Regions from separate parts of the Homo sapiens genome. Here all the other regions are linked to region 1. The links are contacts of gene promoters, found by promoter capture Hi-C in human tissues and cell types (Jung and others, 2019). All regions are on one chromosome and are shown on one strand. Each heading gives the region's core, a stretch centred on a gene start or on the middle of the fragment in contact. The rest is flanking DNA. Distances are from core to core; before and after follow the strand shown.

Region 1 (2,700 bases), core at 201-2,700:
TGTGCCACCAAATATACTGACTCCGCTTGTTTCAGGAAACAACCCAAATTAAGCAGAATAGCCTCCCCTCCGCATACACTAGTTAGGCACTACCACTCACTATTAGCTCCAGATCTTCCTTCTTGATAGTGACTTTTGCCAGTTCTTTCTCCCTGCAAAAATATTTAAATATATTAGTCCTCATTCTCAACCAACACCATAAACTCCCAGGAAGGGTCATTCCCAGAAGTGCCCTGTAAATAAATCTTGATAAACCCTTGATTGAAAATAAAAACTCCCACTAATACTCCTTTCCCCTGGAGTCTTGGCAGCAGGTGTTGCCAGGAGGCCTTCTGCTAACAAGAGTAAAGTTGTGGCGCCTAGATCTGCAGGAATTGGTGATAAATTTGAAGAACGGTATAAAGGCTTAATAATGGTTTTTATTTTTGTCTGGGGACCGGGGAGGGAAGAACTGTTAAAGTTGGCTGCCCCTGAAGACTTACCGCTCCTGTTTGGCTTTCTGCTCCCGGGACCTTCTGTCTCCAATCACAGACATGGCCTATGGGAAAGGCAGGTCTAGTTACTGCACCGCTACCCACAATTCCCAATAATCTAAAAGGCCAACAAAACAAGCGGTTCATGCATGGATTCACGATGACAAGTGTTACCAGGTAGCAAGGACTATGTTTAATTCCATTCTATGCACCTGAGGTCCCCTTAAGCCCACTATCAAGCTCCTTTAGGCAAGCGGCGCGCTCCGGTGACCGCTGTTTCCCTCGGCTCTACCCTATTGCCTCCTCCTGCCAACGGGATCAGAACCCCGTCTTGGAGCGCTGGCTTCCAGCTACAGCCTCAGAGCCCCCCTCTGCTCTCAGCCCGCCCCGACATGCTCTTGGCCAACCTTACCGTCTCCAGATTGGAACTCTGGATCTCCTTCTCCTCTGCATAGTCGGTGACCCGCTCCAAGTCCGCCGCACCGCTGTCATGTTTCCGTGGCTTCTCCGGAGGCCGCTCTGGTCCACTGGTCTCAGTCTCCAACTCCAGCTCCACATCCCCCTCGGTCGCCATATCTATTTCACCACGCCGCCGCATAAGCCCCACCTCACGCCGACTTCCGGCAACTGACACAGCTTCCGCCCGGGGAGGAGGCGGGGCTGGCCCTGGGCCACACCTTCTTTCTGCTCCAGTTCTAGAAGCTTCAGGGAGGAAGGCGGTTCGTCTCTCAGACTTCCTTTCGGGTTTGTACAGTGTTTTGTGCGAGGCCTTCTCTCAGACCTAACCCGACACCGCTCCAGCCCACCCCACCGATATCCTTAACCACCTCATAAACTAGGAATAGTCCCCTCAACACATAAACACGCACCCACCCACCTCAGGGAACTCCGTTCAACCTGAATGACGTCTAATCCTAAACCAATAAAGAATGCTAATCCACAGGGGGCCAGATAGACAAACTGCCCCCTAATCTGGAGAGAACAGCCTGAGTGGCCGCAGTGTTGAGGCCCTAAGGACAAAGCTCCTTCACAGGGCATTTGCATTTACCGCAACCTGGAGGTCAGTGTTCTCTTCCGGACGTCTCCATTCTGCCCGGGACCGGGTGCTCAGCCCCAACACAGTGGCAGTCCAATGGGCTGAGGACAGAAGCAACTGCTGCTCTCATCTGCCTTCCATCTGGTGGACCTAAGCCTAATCCCTGGGACAAGGATGGTGGGTGCCAAGGCCGGCCCCAGCCCCGGCACCTCCCTGGGCCTGGCACAGCAGCACAGCGGAGGCAGCAGTGTCCTAGTGAAAAGTCCCTTCTGTCAGGTGAGAGGGTGCGAAGGGGAGAGTGGCCGAAGCTGGGGAGGAAGACGTGCAGAAGCCAATAAAAACGACAGGCCTCTTTTCTCCTCTAATGTCGTTCTGGTTCGTTGCCCCAGGTATAATCTGTAAATCTCTCCCGCCATGTTTCCAGCCCCAGGTGTTTAGGTCGAGAGAAAGGTCAGATATCTCAAGCCTGCTTATAATGAAAGCCCTACTAAGTTGTCAGTGGGCGGCAATCCCAAATGGCTGGAATCAGCTTGAAACAGAACCTGAGTAAAAGGAAGAAAGGGGAAGGGGAAATTTTGGAATTCAACCTCCTGGGTTAACCTCACACATACATTAACGTATGCCTTTCCTCAGCAAGTCTCCACCTCGCTGCCTTGCATCTGCTCTACTCCCAGGTGTGCTGCTGTGGGCCTGCTCCTTGTGCCAGCTGCTGCCACTCTAGGTGGCCCTCTCTCACCGCATCCACTTGCAGCCGCCTGTTCTACATCCTCCTCCATGTGGGGGCCTCAGCAATCTGCTGCCTCCTGCTGTCAAGGACAGTAGTGGAAAGGGTGTGGGGCAAGACACACAGGGTAAGTGAGAGGGGGTCGGGTTGTCAGGTGGGAAGAGATAAAAGGAAAAACCCTAAGATAGAAAAGGTTTCGGTTGGGGGCAGGAGACAAATGAGTGGTCATACCCGTGACAAGTAGGTACCTTTCCATGCATTATGACTTGTCCTGCCATTTCTCTCACACACACTCCCAGATCCAGATGCCCTCGGGGTTGTGTGCCCACCTGTTTGGCCTCTCTGACTGTCCAGTGCTCAGTGGCTCTGGGGCTGTGTACCGAGTATGTGCAGGAACCGCCACCTTCCACCTGCTGCAGGCTGTGTTGCTGGTCCACCTCCACTCCCCCACCAGCCCGCGGGCACAG
Region 2 (2,700 bases), core at 111-2,610, 380 kb after region 1:
AGCTGGGCATGGGGGCACATGCTTGTTGTCGTAGCTACTCAGGAGGATGAGGCAGGCGGATTGCTTAAGCTCAGGAGTTTGAGTCCACAGTGAGCTATGATCATGACACTGCACTCCAGCCTGGGAAACAGTGAGACCCTGTCTCTTAAAAAAAAATATGCCACAGAGGTGAAATGCCCTTCTCATGTTATCATATAAGGACCTGGGAAGGTTTGTGATGTATCCACATGACATCACTGATGCAGGATGTTAATCTTCATCACTGGTTAAGGTTGTATTTGCCAGATTTCTTCACTTTTTTTTGAAACAGTCTCACTCACTCTGTTTCCCAGGCTAGAGTGCAGTGGCGCAATCTAGGCTCACTGCAACCTCTAGCTTCCGGGTACAAGTGAGTCTCCTGCCTCAGTCTCCTGAGTAGCTAGGATTACAGGTGTGCCCCACCAGACCCGGCTAATTTTTGTATTTTTAGTGGGGATGGCATTTCGCCATATTGGCCAGGCTGGTCTCAAACTCCTGAGCTCAGGTGATCTACCTGCCTTGGCCTCCCAAAATGCTGGGTTTGCAGGCGTGAGCCACTGCAAGAGAGGGACAGGTGGCCTTCTCTAAAGTTAGTGTTTTTCCCTTTCCATACTCTCTTCTTTTTTAAAGCTTAGCTACCTGCTTTGATTGGAACCCAGTAGGTGATATTGAGATATTTTTGCTTAGGGAGAAGTTTTTAGTGCTGTGTCTGTATGACTGCACATCTACCACTTATTCTCTGGTTTGAAGAACAGTGCCTTTTTATTTTTGAAGTAGGTAATATTGGTGATAGTGAGAGGTTTATGCTTGTGGTTATGCTTGTTGTTATTGTTTCATGTGCTAGTTCTTTGAATATATTGTCTCCTTTCTATGGAAATAATTTGAAGATACCTATTTGTGTTGAGTTTGTCATTTAAAAACATCTTTCTGAGGACTTTTTGAACATGGATTGGCATATAATGGGGGAAAATGGCTTTCTTTCTATCTTTTTTTTTTTTTTTGAGACACAGTTTCACTCTGCCTCCTAGACTGGAGTGCAGTGAGTGGCGTGATCTTGGCTCACTGCAACCTCTGCCTCCTGGGTTCAAGTGTTTCTCGTGCCTCAGCCTCCCGAGTAGCTGGGTTTACAGGCACGCACCACCACACCTGGCTAATTTTTTTTTGTGTTTTTCGTAGAGATGGGGTTTCGCCACATTGGCCAGGCTGGTCTCGAACTCCCAACCTCAACTTATCTGCCTGCCTCAGCCTCCCAAAGTGCTGGGATTACAGACGTGAGCCACCATGCCCAGCCAAAAAATGGATTTTTTTTTTTTTTTTTTTTTTTTTAAAAACAGAGCCTTGCTCTGTCGCCCAGGCTGGAGTGCAATGGCACGATCTTGGCTCACTGCAACCTCCGCCTCTGGTGTTCAAGTGATTCTCTTGCCTCAGCCTCCCAAGTAGCTGGGATTACAGGTGCATGCCACAACACCTGGTTAATCTTTGTATTTTTAGTAGAGACAGGGCTTTGCCATCTTGGTCAGGCTGGTCTTGAATTCCTGACCTCAAGCCATCCACCCGCCCCAGCCTCCCAAAGTGCTGGGATTACAGTAGTGAGCCACTGCTCCCGGCTGGAAAAATGGCTTTCTGTTGGAGTCCATCCAGGCTTCTCTTGTATTTGGAATCCTCTGAGTAATTGTTGTTTGCCCTTTGTTCATTATTAAATGGGCCACTTCACCTTCTAGTTCTGGATAACATTGTTAGCTATATATGGGATCAGTTGGGAGTAGCACATGGATTGGGGTCTTTTATTGTGACTCATAGTTTGTATGTATCAAATGCATTCGTTCTTCTTTCAGGTGTAAAGCTACTCTTAGGGGTTCATATTTGGCCTTTTAAAGACGGAGTTCTGTAACAAGAGTGAACTGTGGCATCAAGGTGTGGGGATTCTGTGTCCCATTTCTTGAGGCTGTTTGCTCATGTCAACACTAGACTACTTCTAGTTCTAGTAGCTCTTCATTAGTGTGAAGTATATTGTTGGCCTTGGGCTTCTTTGTGTTTTTGAGGGAGTCTTTGTGACTTAGTTTGGGGATAGAGATTTAAGCTAGGAGATGAACAAGTAAGGGAAAAGGGAGTGATTCCACAGGATAGATAGAGAACCAAGGCTTGCTTTCTCTGTGTTATTTTCCTTGGGTGGGGTAGGCTCTGGGTTTCTTTTAGCTCTTCATTCAAGCATAGGCTAATGGGTGAGAAGAAATTGGACCCTTCTGTTTATAGGAATGAAAAAATATTCATAGTAATGCCTTGTTTTTGTATTGTATATGTGTGTGGGGGTGGGGGGGTGTGTATCTATAGCTATAGTATGTGTGTGTGTTGTAAATTGTTTATTCATTGATAGGAAGAAGTGTTCTTTTTCACAGGCTTAGTAATGGGTCCTGCCCAAGATCACACAGCTTGGTGGCAGCAGAATTAGGCCTAGGCTCAGTTCTCCTGAATTATAGCTTAGTTTCCTTTTACATCCCACATTTTGTTCCTTTTAACATAAAGGCCTTATCAGGTTTTGAATCAGAGCAGGAAAGTAGATAATAGAGAGGAAGATTAGGTAGGAGAGGCAGGATCTGTTTTTTCCTTTCTTTGCTCTCTAATTTTGCTACACACACAGAGAGAAAACACACACATGCTGTCTCTCTTAGAATGATGTCATTT
Region 3 (2,700 bases), core at 170-2,669, 300 kb before region 1:
CAAGCCTAAAAGTACCCCAGAGCTGGCCTCTTTATGGTACTTGCAAGTAGAGGATAAAAGATGTATCTTTTTGTATCTTGGATACTGGTGGCCCTTGGCAACAAACAATCTCCATCTCTCTTGAGGGAGTCAGGATGCCAAGCAAATTTTGAGGAACAGATAATAGAATAATGATATGAATCAAAATAGGGGCCAAGAATCCCAAATTCACTTCTTCCTTCCATTCTCCAGAACCCATGATTGCAGTTTCCACATTTTTTTTTCAGTTTTAACAGTCTCCTTTTTCATAATCATATGATGGGAATTCATGTGTGTCAAAGAGATTACTTGGACATTACCACCTCCAAGAGAGGTCATGGTAGATTGTCTTACTGTTGAAAATGTGGTCCATGGATCAGCAGAAGCAGCAGCAGCATTACCTGGGAGTTTGTTAGGATTTCATAATCTCAGGCCCCACTCTAGACCTACTGAATCAGAATCTGTATTTTAACAAGATCCTCAGGTGGTTTGCATGCATGTTAAAGTTTGAGGAGCATTGGTAGAGGGAACTGTGGCTATTTATTTTATTGGTCATGTGCATACTAATTTCCCGACCTCTCTTGATTATTAAAATGACTGTGAACTTACTAGAACTACAACATATTGATGTGAGGGAGGTGTTTATATGTGAAGGTGATTGGCTTCCATGCAGAAACCATGTAACACCCAGCCTGAACAGTTTCTGATGAGGTTGCCCTTAACCTAGGAAACTGAAAGATAATGTTGTCGTGTTTTTGATATATGACTGCTGTCCTGCTCAACTTTATAAACATGTCCAGGAGGTGGGGAGCAGTTTGCTACTCTTCATTTGCAAATCAATTATCTTTATATAAGTAGCAAATAGTCTATTTTAAAAGCTCAAAAGATAATTTTTAAATGAGAATTTGCTTTGCATGAAGTGTGTAGATGTTGGAAAAAGGTGACTTTGTCTAATTATTCTAATATATGAAGTTTAAAGGAATTAAGAGAATGTAAAAAATGGAGGCAGTAAAACGTAGAGTCTTCTTTAAGTCACAACTGTGACAGGGTCTCTTCAAGAGGCATCAGAAGTGACAAATGACCATTGGTGAGGAAATGGTACATTTGCAGTTTGGGTTCATAGTTTTCTAACTCTGTGGATAAAGAAAGACTCAAGGCTCTGACAGAAACTAAGTCATAGATTGCTTTTCTGCTTATGTCTCTCTCTCTCTTTTTTTTTTTTTTTTGAGACAGAGTCTTGCTGTGTCGCCAGGCTGGAGTGCAGTGGCATGATCTCGGCTCACTGCAACCTCTGCCTCCTGAGTTCAAGTGATTCTCCTGCCTCAGCCTCCCAAGTAGCTGGGACTACAGGCATGCACCACCACACCCAGCTAATATTTGTATTTTTAGTAGAGATAGGGTTTCACCATGTTGGTTAGGATGGTCTCGATCTCTTGACCTCGTGATCTGCCCGCCTTGGCCTCCCAAAGTGCTAGGATTACAGGCGTGAGCCACTGCACCCGGCCTTGTATCCCTTTTAGTAGAGAGTATGCTTCCTGTTCATTGAAGAGTCAGGTGACAGAGAGTAACATAATCATTGAAGCTTGGACTTTTTATTTAGTTTTTTGTTGTTGTTGTTTAGTTTTTTTTTTTTTGTTTTGTCACTCTGAACTTTTGGGAGCATGGCATTACTTTCTGGCTGCTTTAGGCATTTGGCTCTTGCTGATGCACATAACACAGGGTCAGGCCAGGTTCATGCTGCTGCAGGTCCTTTCTCCCAGACTTTAAGAAGATGACATTTTACATTAGGATGCAGTAAACATGTCATTCAAAGGCCATTCTGCAGCTCCTGGAGCACAAAGACTTGCTGAGTTTGCCATGATTGCATGCAAATTTTTGAAAAGTCAAATGCATGTATAAAACAGTTTGTCAGGCTGCTATTGGAGGAAAACAAGAACAAGTTGAAATCAATTGTTTGGGAAGAACATTTTGGCATGGTTTCTCTGAAGTTGAGTAAACATAATTTGTCCTATGTACCCATCTGGGCACACAGTAGCAGTCCTTCTGCCCACGGAAGGAGTTTGCACACATTAGACAAATTACTAGTCTGAATCTCCAAGACACAGATAGACGGTTCTGTGTGTGTATATATTTGTGTTTATACACTGTAACATATTATTCTATATACAGTGTTAAAGGCAGAGCCCTCCCCGAGGTACACTGCTTTCTTCAGAGCTTCCCTATAGTCTGCTCTGGTAGCACCTCCTACTTCTTTTAAGGTTAGTACAGGAGCCCCTCTTCTTGTCTGGTTGACCTGGACACTTTCATAGCCATGTCATTCTAAGGGTTCAGGTCTGACCCAGATAAGCCCTAAGGCCCAGACTGCTTGTCTGAAGTCTCCCAAGAGCACAGTTTTGCAGAGGCAAAGTGAGGCTTTGCTAAAGGCACTTCAGAATTTTTCTACAAAGCTTGCTGTTCCTACAGGTGAGGGTAGCTGTTTTTTTCTCCCCTTAGGTTTACTTTACTCTCACTCATCAACTCTGGCAAAGTGGATTTAACCATCAGATGTATTCTTTATTTCAGAGAACAAAGTGGTTTTGTTGGACTTCTTGTTCTCTCACTAGCTTTTGTGAAGGAAAAAAATCCTGCATGTTCCATACTAAAATGATAGCATTATAATTTTGCATCATTACATTATTTAAC
Region 4 (2,700 bases), core at 109-2,608, 430 kb after region 1:
CTGCTGGGCTCTAAGGAGAAAGAACTTCCAAGTGGCAGCCACATAGGAGACAGACGAGTGCATGCTGATCTGTTACCATCCAAGAAAGATAGAAGAAGCTGGGTGGAACAGGATCACTGGAGCTTTGAAGATGAGAAGGTGGCAGGTGTGCACTGGGGCTATGAAGAGACCAGAACGCTCCTCGCAATTCTCAGCCAGACTGAGTTTTATGAGGCTCTCAGAAACTGCCATAGGAACAGCCAAGTGTATGGGGCTGTGGCTGAGCGGCTCAGGGAATATGGCTTCCTCCGGACCCTGGAACAGTGTCGGACCAAGTTCAAAGGTCTCCAGAAGAGCTATCGGAAAGTCAAGAGCGGCCACCCACCTGAGACCTGCCCCTTCTTTGAAGAGATGGAAGCCCTGATGAGTGCTCAGGTCATTGCCCTGCCCAGTAATGGCCTGGAAGCAGCAGCCTCTCACTCTGGCCTGGTAGGCAGCGATGCTGAGACTGAAGAGCCAGGGCAGAGGGGCTGGCAGCATGAGGAGGGAGCAGAAGAGGCTGTGGCTCAGGAGTCTGACAGTGATGACATGGATCTAGAGGCGACCCCCCAGGACCCCAACTCAGCTGCACCTGTTGTGTTCAGAAGCCCAGGTGGTAAGAAGCTTTTCTTCTTGGAGTTTTGGAATTAGACTTGGGGAACAAAGAGACTGGATGTGGAGTCAGAAGGCTTAATGTCACATGCCAGCTTTGCCACTTAGGGAACAAAGAAGTGCTTCTCCATTCTTTGTGTGTATTTCATTCTCTTTTATGGGAAAATCAGTGAGATAATTGGGAATACATTTAGATTTTTAGAAGAAATACACTCAGAAAATTCACAGTCCTGAGAAGGAGTATCATTCCTTCCATTTCTTTACTAAACTATTTTTTTCCCTGATTTTAAAATCATTGCAGCAGGCTCACTGAGAAAAATGTGGCACAATATTATCTTTAAGTAGAACCAGTGTTTATTGAGTATGTCATATGAACTTGATGTTTTACATATTTTATCTTTTACTTCCCCAAAGCTCAAAGTCAGTTTATTATATTCGTTTTTACTTAGAATAGTACAGTGAAGAATTGTCCAAAGTTGGGGAAACATTTTTTTCTTTAAAAATTTTAAAATATATTTAAACAGAGACAGGGTCTTGCTGTGTTGCCCAGGCTGGTCTCACTGGGTTCAAGCAGTCCTCCCACCTCAGCCTTCTGAGTAGTTAGGACTACAGGTGTGAGCCACCACACTGAGCTGGGAAACATCTAAGTTTCCTCTGAGATTCATAGTATACATTGGCATTTTAACAGGATTGAGAAGTCCTACAGTGAGAAAGCTTGTTTAACACTCTATTTAAATATTCTTGCCTATGGAATCCTTTTTAAAGTATCATTTACTACCATTAATGTAATCGGTACAACTATGCTGTTATGGAAAGAGCACCAAAGTATGACTCAGGAGGCTTAGATTCTAATCCTGATGACCACTAATAAACTGGGCGACCTTGAGCAGTTATCTAACCATTCTAAGCTTCCATTTCCTCAAGTGTAAAATGGGGCAAAGCAGGAGGACTACATCGCTAAAGTTGCAGTTCCTTTGTGAGCAGTGGTCTTTTCCTTCTGTTTTTTGTGACATGCATGATCTTATTTTAGTTCTGTTCTAGCTTTCTGGTCTTTGTGTCTTCTGCTTTTTCGTTTCTCTTTATTTTTCTTGTTTTCTTCATTCTCTTTTTCCTTTTTTGTTGCAGACACAAATATATGTAGGTTAATTAAATGTGGCACATGTGCTCAATGTTATTTTCATTATCATTGTTCTTTCACTTTTTTTTTTTTTTTTTTTTTTTGAGACAGAGTCGCTTTGTTGTCCAGGCTGGAGTGCAGTGGTGTGATCTCATCTCACTGCAACCTCCACCTCCCCAGTTCAAGCGATTCTCGATTCTCATGCCTCAGCCTCCCAAGTAGCTGGGACTATAGGTGCACACCACCACGCCTGGCTAATTTTTCTGTGTTTTTAGTAGAGACAGGCTTTCACCATGTTGTCCAGGCTGGTCTCAAACTCCTGGCCCCAAGCGATCCACAGGGATTACAGGCATAAGCCACTGTGCCTGGCCAGCTTCTTTTTTATATGGCTAAACAGAATTTGTAAATAAAGGTCTCTGTGAAATTGCTAAAGGATATAAAGAAGCAAAACATTCTATACTGAGTTTGTGGATTTTGGAAACATGAAGTATTTTTACTTTTTCATCTAGGAGCCTGAGCTTAGGTGAATTCTCATGATGCAGATGATAGGACTGAGGAATTCAGGCTCTAAAGCTCTGGATTAAGTGGTGCTGAAATTTCTCTTCTGGTGGCAGGTGTACACTGGGGCTATGAAGAGACCAAGACTTACCTTGCAATTCTTAGTGAGACCCAGTTTTATGAAGCCCTCCGGAACTGTCACCGCAACAGCCAGCTGTATGGAGCAGTGGCTGAGAGGTTATGGGAATATGGCTTTCTTAGGACCCCAGAACAGTGTCGGACCAAGTTTAAAAGCCTGCAAACCAGCTATCGGAAAGTTAAGAATGGCCAGGCACCAGAGACCTGTCCCTTCTTTGAAGAGATGGATGCTTTGGTGAGTGTCCGGGTTGCTGCCCCACCCAATGATGGCCAGGAAGAGACTGCTTCTTGCCCCGTCCAGGGGACCAGTGAGGCTG
Region 5 (2,700 bases), core at 40-2,539, 470 kb before region 1:
TATCTTTCCACCATTTAGCACTGTGGCTGACATATATCATGTTTGATAAAGGAACATGATTTATTTCCTCTGGGTGGTATTTGACTAATCCTTGGTCTTTCTATCACATATAAAGAAAATCCTAAAATAGATGAATTTTTCATGTTGAATTGTCTGAATTCGTATGAATGTATGAATTTGGGGGTGTTTTTTAAAAGTGGAAATAATTTAATGTTTTTTAATGCTTATGAACATGCTCAGAGCAAAAAAAAAAAAAATCAGATAGTCAGAATGGGAAAACAAACAGTGAAAATCACCAACAGTTTCATCCACCAAAGTAAAACCACAGTTAACATTCTAGCATAGAGCTTTCCAGACTTTTTCCTTTTTCCTTTTTTTTTTTTTTTTTTTTTTTTTTGAGATAGAGTCTTGCTTTATCACCCAGGCTGGAGTTCAGTGGCACAACCATAACTCACTGTAACTTCGGACTCCTGGGCTCAAGCCATCCTCAGTCTCCCAAGTAGCTGAGATCACAGGTGCATGCCACCATGCCCAGGTAATTTTTATTTTTGCAGAGATGGGGGTCTCACTATATTACCAAGGCTGATCTTGAACTTCTGGCGTCAAGTGATCCTCCCTCCTCGGCCTCCCAAAGCACAGGATTACAGGCATGAGCCACCACTCCTGGGCCCATCAATGCATTTTTAATGCATATCAAAAGTACCATGTGTATTGTTTTGTGACCTGCTTTTTCACTTAACAATATCTTGCAGGCAACTTTCCATGTAATAAATTTATTGCTACATATCCGTTTTTGGTCAATGCATAGAACGATGTACTATATACTTTATTTAACGAATCTCCTATAGATGATCACTAAGTATTTTAGGTAGCTTCTTATGGTCGCCCAGAACAAAGACATCCCTCAAGACACTTTATTTTTATTTTATTATTATTATTTTTAGAGAGAGTCTTAGTCTGTCACCCAGGCTGGAGTGCAGTGGTGCAATCCTGGCTCACTGCAACCTCTACCTCCTGGGTTCAAACGATTCTCATGCTTCAGCCTCCCGAGTAGCTGGGATGCATGCCACGACACCCAGCTAATTTTTGTATTTTTAGTAGACATAGGGTTTCGCCATGTTGGCCAGGCTGGTTTCGAACTCCTGACCTCAGGTGATCCACCCACCTCGGCCTCCTAAAATGCTGGGATTATAGGCATAAGCCACCATGCCCAGCTGGCAAGATACTTTAAAAATGTAGGAAAGACTCATTCAGATTTCCTCAAGGATCAAGAGGGCAAGTTAAAGGATGTTCAGTCCATAGATCAAAACTGGAACCAGAAGTCCATCTATCAGGACACAGCTCTATAAACCAACTACTCTTTCTGACACTTCTTTTTTTTTCTGACTGAGTCTTGCTCTGTTGTCCAGGCTGGAATGCAGTGGTGTGATCTCAGCTCACTGCAACCTCCACCTCCCGGCTTCAAGCCATTTTCCTGCCTCAGCCTCCCCAGTAGCTGGGATTACAGGCACCTGCCACCATGCCCAGCTAATTTTTGTATTTTTAGTAGAGATGGGGTTTCACCATGTTGTTCAGGCTGGTCATGAACTCCTGACTTCAGGTGTTCTGCCCGCCTCAGCCTCCCAAAGTGCTGGGGTTATAGGCATGAGCCACTGCGCCCAGCCTCTTTCTGACACTTCTGTCTCTCCTCTCATCTCCATGTCTCCCCAATTTTCTCTTCTTCTTCAGAGTTTTTGCTTCCTCTCAACTTCCACTTGTACAGAGCTTTGACTTGGCTTGCTCTCGTCTCCTACATGTGATATTCTTTTGGTTTCTGTCCCTTATTGTCAGTAAGTAGAAGTTCAGATATTTTTATCCTATACCCAGAGGATGATCTTGTACACTCCACTTGAGATCCCCGGTGTAGAAGTGAAAGAAGTAGCGAGAAATGGAGGTGAAGAGATAAGTGGGGGCCAGATCATAGAGAGCTCATATTAAAGAGTCTGGCTTTTTACCCAAGAGTAAGAGAAAACCACTAAAAGATTTTAGGAATATTTATGATTTAGGAAGACTTTTCTAGCTAAGTGTGATTGTGCCTGCAAGTCTGTAGATGGCAGGAAGGCTAGTTGAGAGACTGTTGCAACAATTCATATGAGAAACATTAGAGTCCAAGAAACATCCCAGAAACAGTTTTTAACTTGGACAGTTCTATCAGTGCTGGGGGCATTCCCTGAAACAGGAACTCTGGAGAGCTGATGAGCTTACAAGTCGTTTCTATAAGGCAGAAGGTTTTCTAGTTGAACGAAAAATTACACATTACTTCACTAAGTCCTTGAAGATCTTCATCTGACAACCTCAGACCTTTTCTACTCTCAAATTCTATTCAAGAGCTGTTTGGGGTTGTGGTTGTCTTAAGTCTTAAACCATGAAGCTAATTTTTACTCCTCTAGCTTTATCCTTTGTCATAATGAAATAAATTTTCTTGACTGAATAACATGTCATGCCTTTTACCTCCTCCTGCCAATGTGTGACGGATATGTAAGAAAAAAATACTAAAAAAATTTTTGATAATCCATTCACAAAGTGTGATCTTTCTCCATGTTCCCCCCACCACCCCACTTTTTGTTACACTTTCTCTTTCTCCTCCTCCTCTTCCCTCTGGGAAGTCGTTTTGAAGGAACAGGCATCTGTCTAGACTGTTTCTTATTTCTAGAAAGTATT

What was found. The method cuts DNA at HindIII sites, captures the fragments that hold promoters and counts their contacts. A contact is called where the count stands out against the background at its distance.
Region 2: a fragment that was not itself captured here is called in contact with the fragment with the promoter of SERINC4 in region 1 in 1 of the 25 tissues and cell types used here (dorsolateral prefrontal cortex).
Region 3: a contact is called between a fragment that was not itself captured here and the fragment with the promoter of SERINC4 in region 1, in 3 of the 25 tissues and cell types used here (dorsolateral prefrontal cortex, hippocampus and thymus).
Region 4: a fragment that was not itself captured here is called in contact with the fragment with the promoter of SERINC4 in region 1 in 2 of the 25 tissues and cell types used here (dorsolateral prefrontal cortex and hippocampus).
Region 5: a contact is called between a fragment that was not itself captured here and the fragment with the promoter of SERINC4 in region 1, in 1 of the 25 tissues and cell types used here (hippocampus).

Annotation. Positions count from the first base shown.
Region 1 is chr15:43,798,970-43,801,669 of GRCh38, reverse strand. It overlaps SERINC4 (serine incorporator 4), which reads left to right and starts at 1,450. Exons shown (of 12, transcript NM_001258031.2): 1 at 1,450-1,785; 2 at 2,184-2,360; 3 at 2,533-2,700. The coding sequence starts at 1,684. It overlaps HYPK (huntingtin interacting protein K), which reads right to left and starts at 1,071. Exons shown (of 4, transcript NM_016400.4): 1 at 886-1,071; 2 at 483-538; 3 at 101-152. The coding sequence starts at 1,047. It overlaps SERF2-C15ORF63 (SERF2-C15orf63 readthrough), which reads right to left. Exons shown (of 6, transcript NR_037673.1): 3 at 886-1,175; 4 at 483-538; 5 at 101-152. RefSeq lists enhancers at 795-1,044, 952-1,652, 1,653-2,353. The HindIII fragment of the contact is 6,811 bases long and covers 1-2,700 here.
Region 2 is chr15:43,416,825-43,419,524 of GRCh38, reverse strand. The region is part of intron 21 of TP53BP1 (tumor protein p53 binding protein 1); the gene reads left to right. Among named protein-coding and RNA genes, the nearest start is that of TUBGCP4, 47 kb to the right of the region's middle. The HindIII fragment of the contact is 3,950 bases long and covers 1-2,700 here.
Region 3 is chr15:44,097,068-44,099,767 of GRCh38, reverse strand. The region is part of intron 1 of FRMD5 (FERM domain containing 5); the gene reads left to right. Among named protein-coding and RNA genes, the nearest start is that of FRMD5, 97 kb to the left of the region's middle. The HindIII fragment of the contact is 4,483 bases long and covers 1-2,700 here.
Region 4 is chr15:43,364,044-43,366,743 of GRCh38, reverse strand. It overlaps ZSCAN29 (zinc finger and SCAN domain containing 29), which reads left to right. Exons shown (of 6, transcript NM_001372080.1): 4 at 1-634; 5 at 2,362-2,700. Among named protein-coding and RNA genes, the nearest start is that of ZSCAN29, 5.6 kb to the left of the region's middle. The HindIII fragment of the contact is 3,910 bases long and covers 1-2,700 here.
Region 5 is chr15:44,270,710-44,273,409 of GRCh38, reverse strand. No RefSeq gene overlaps it. Among named protein-coding and RNA genes, the nearest start is that of GOLM2, 17 kb to the left of the region's middle. The HindIII fragment of the contact is 7,175 bases long and covers 1-2,700 here.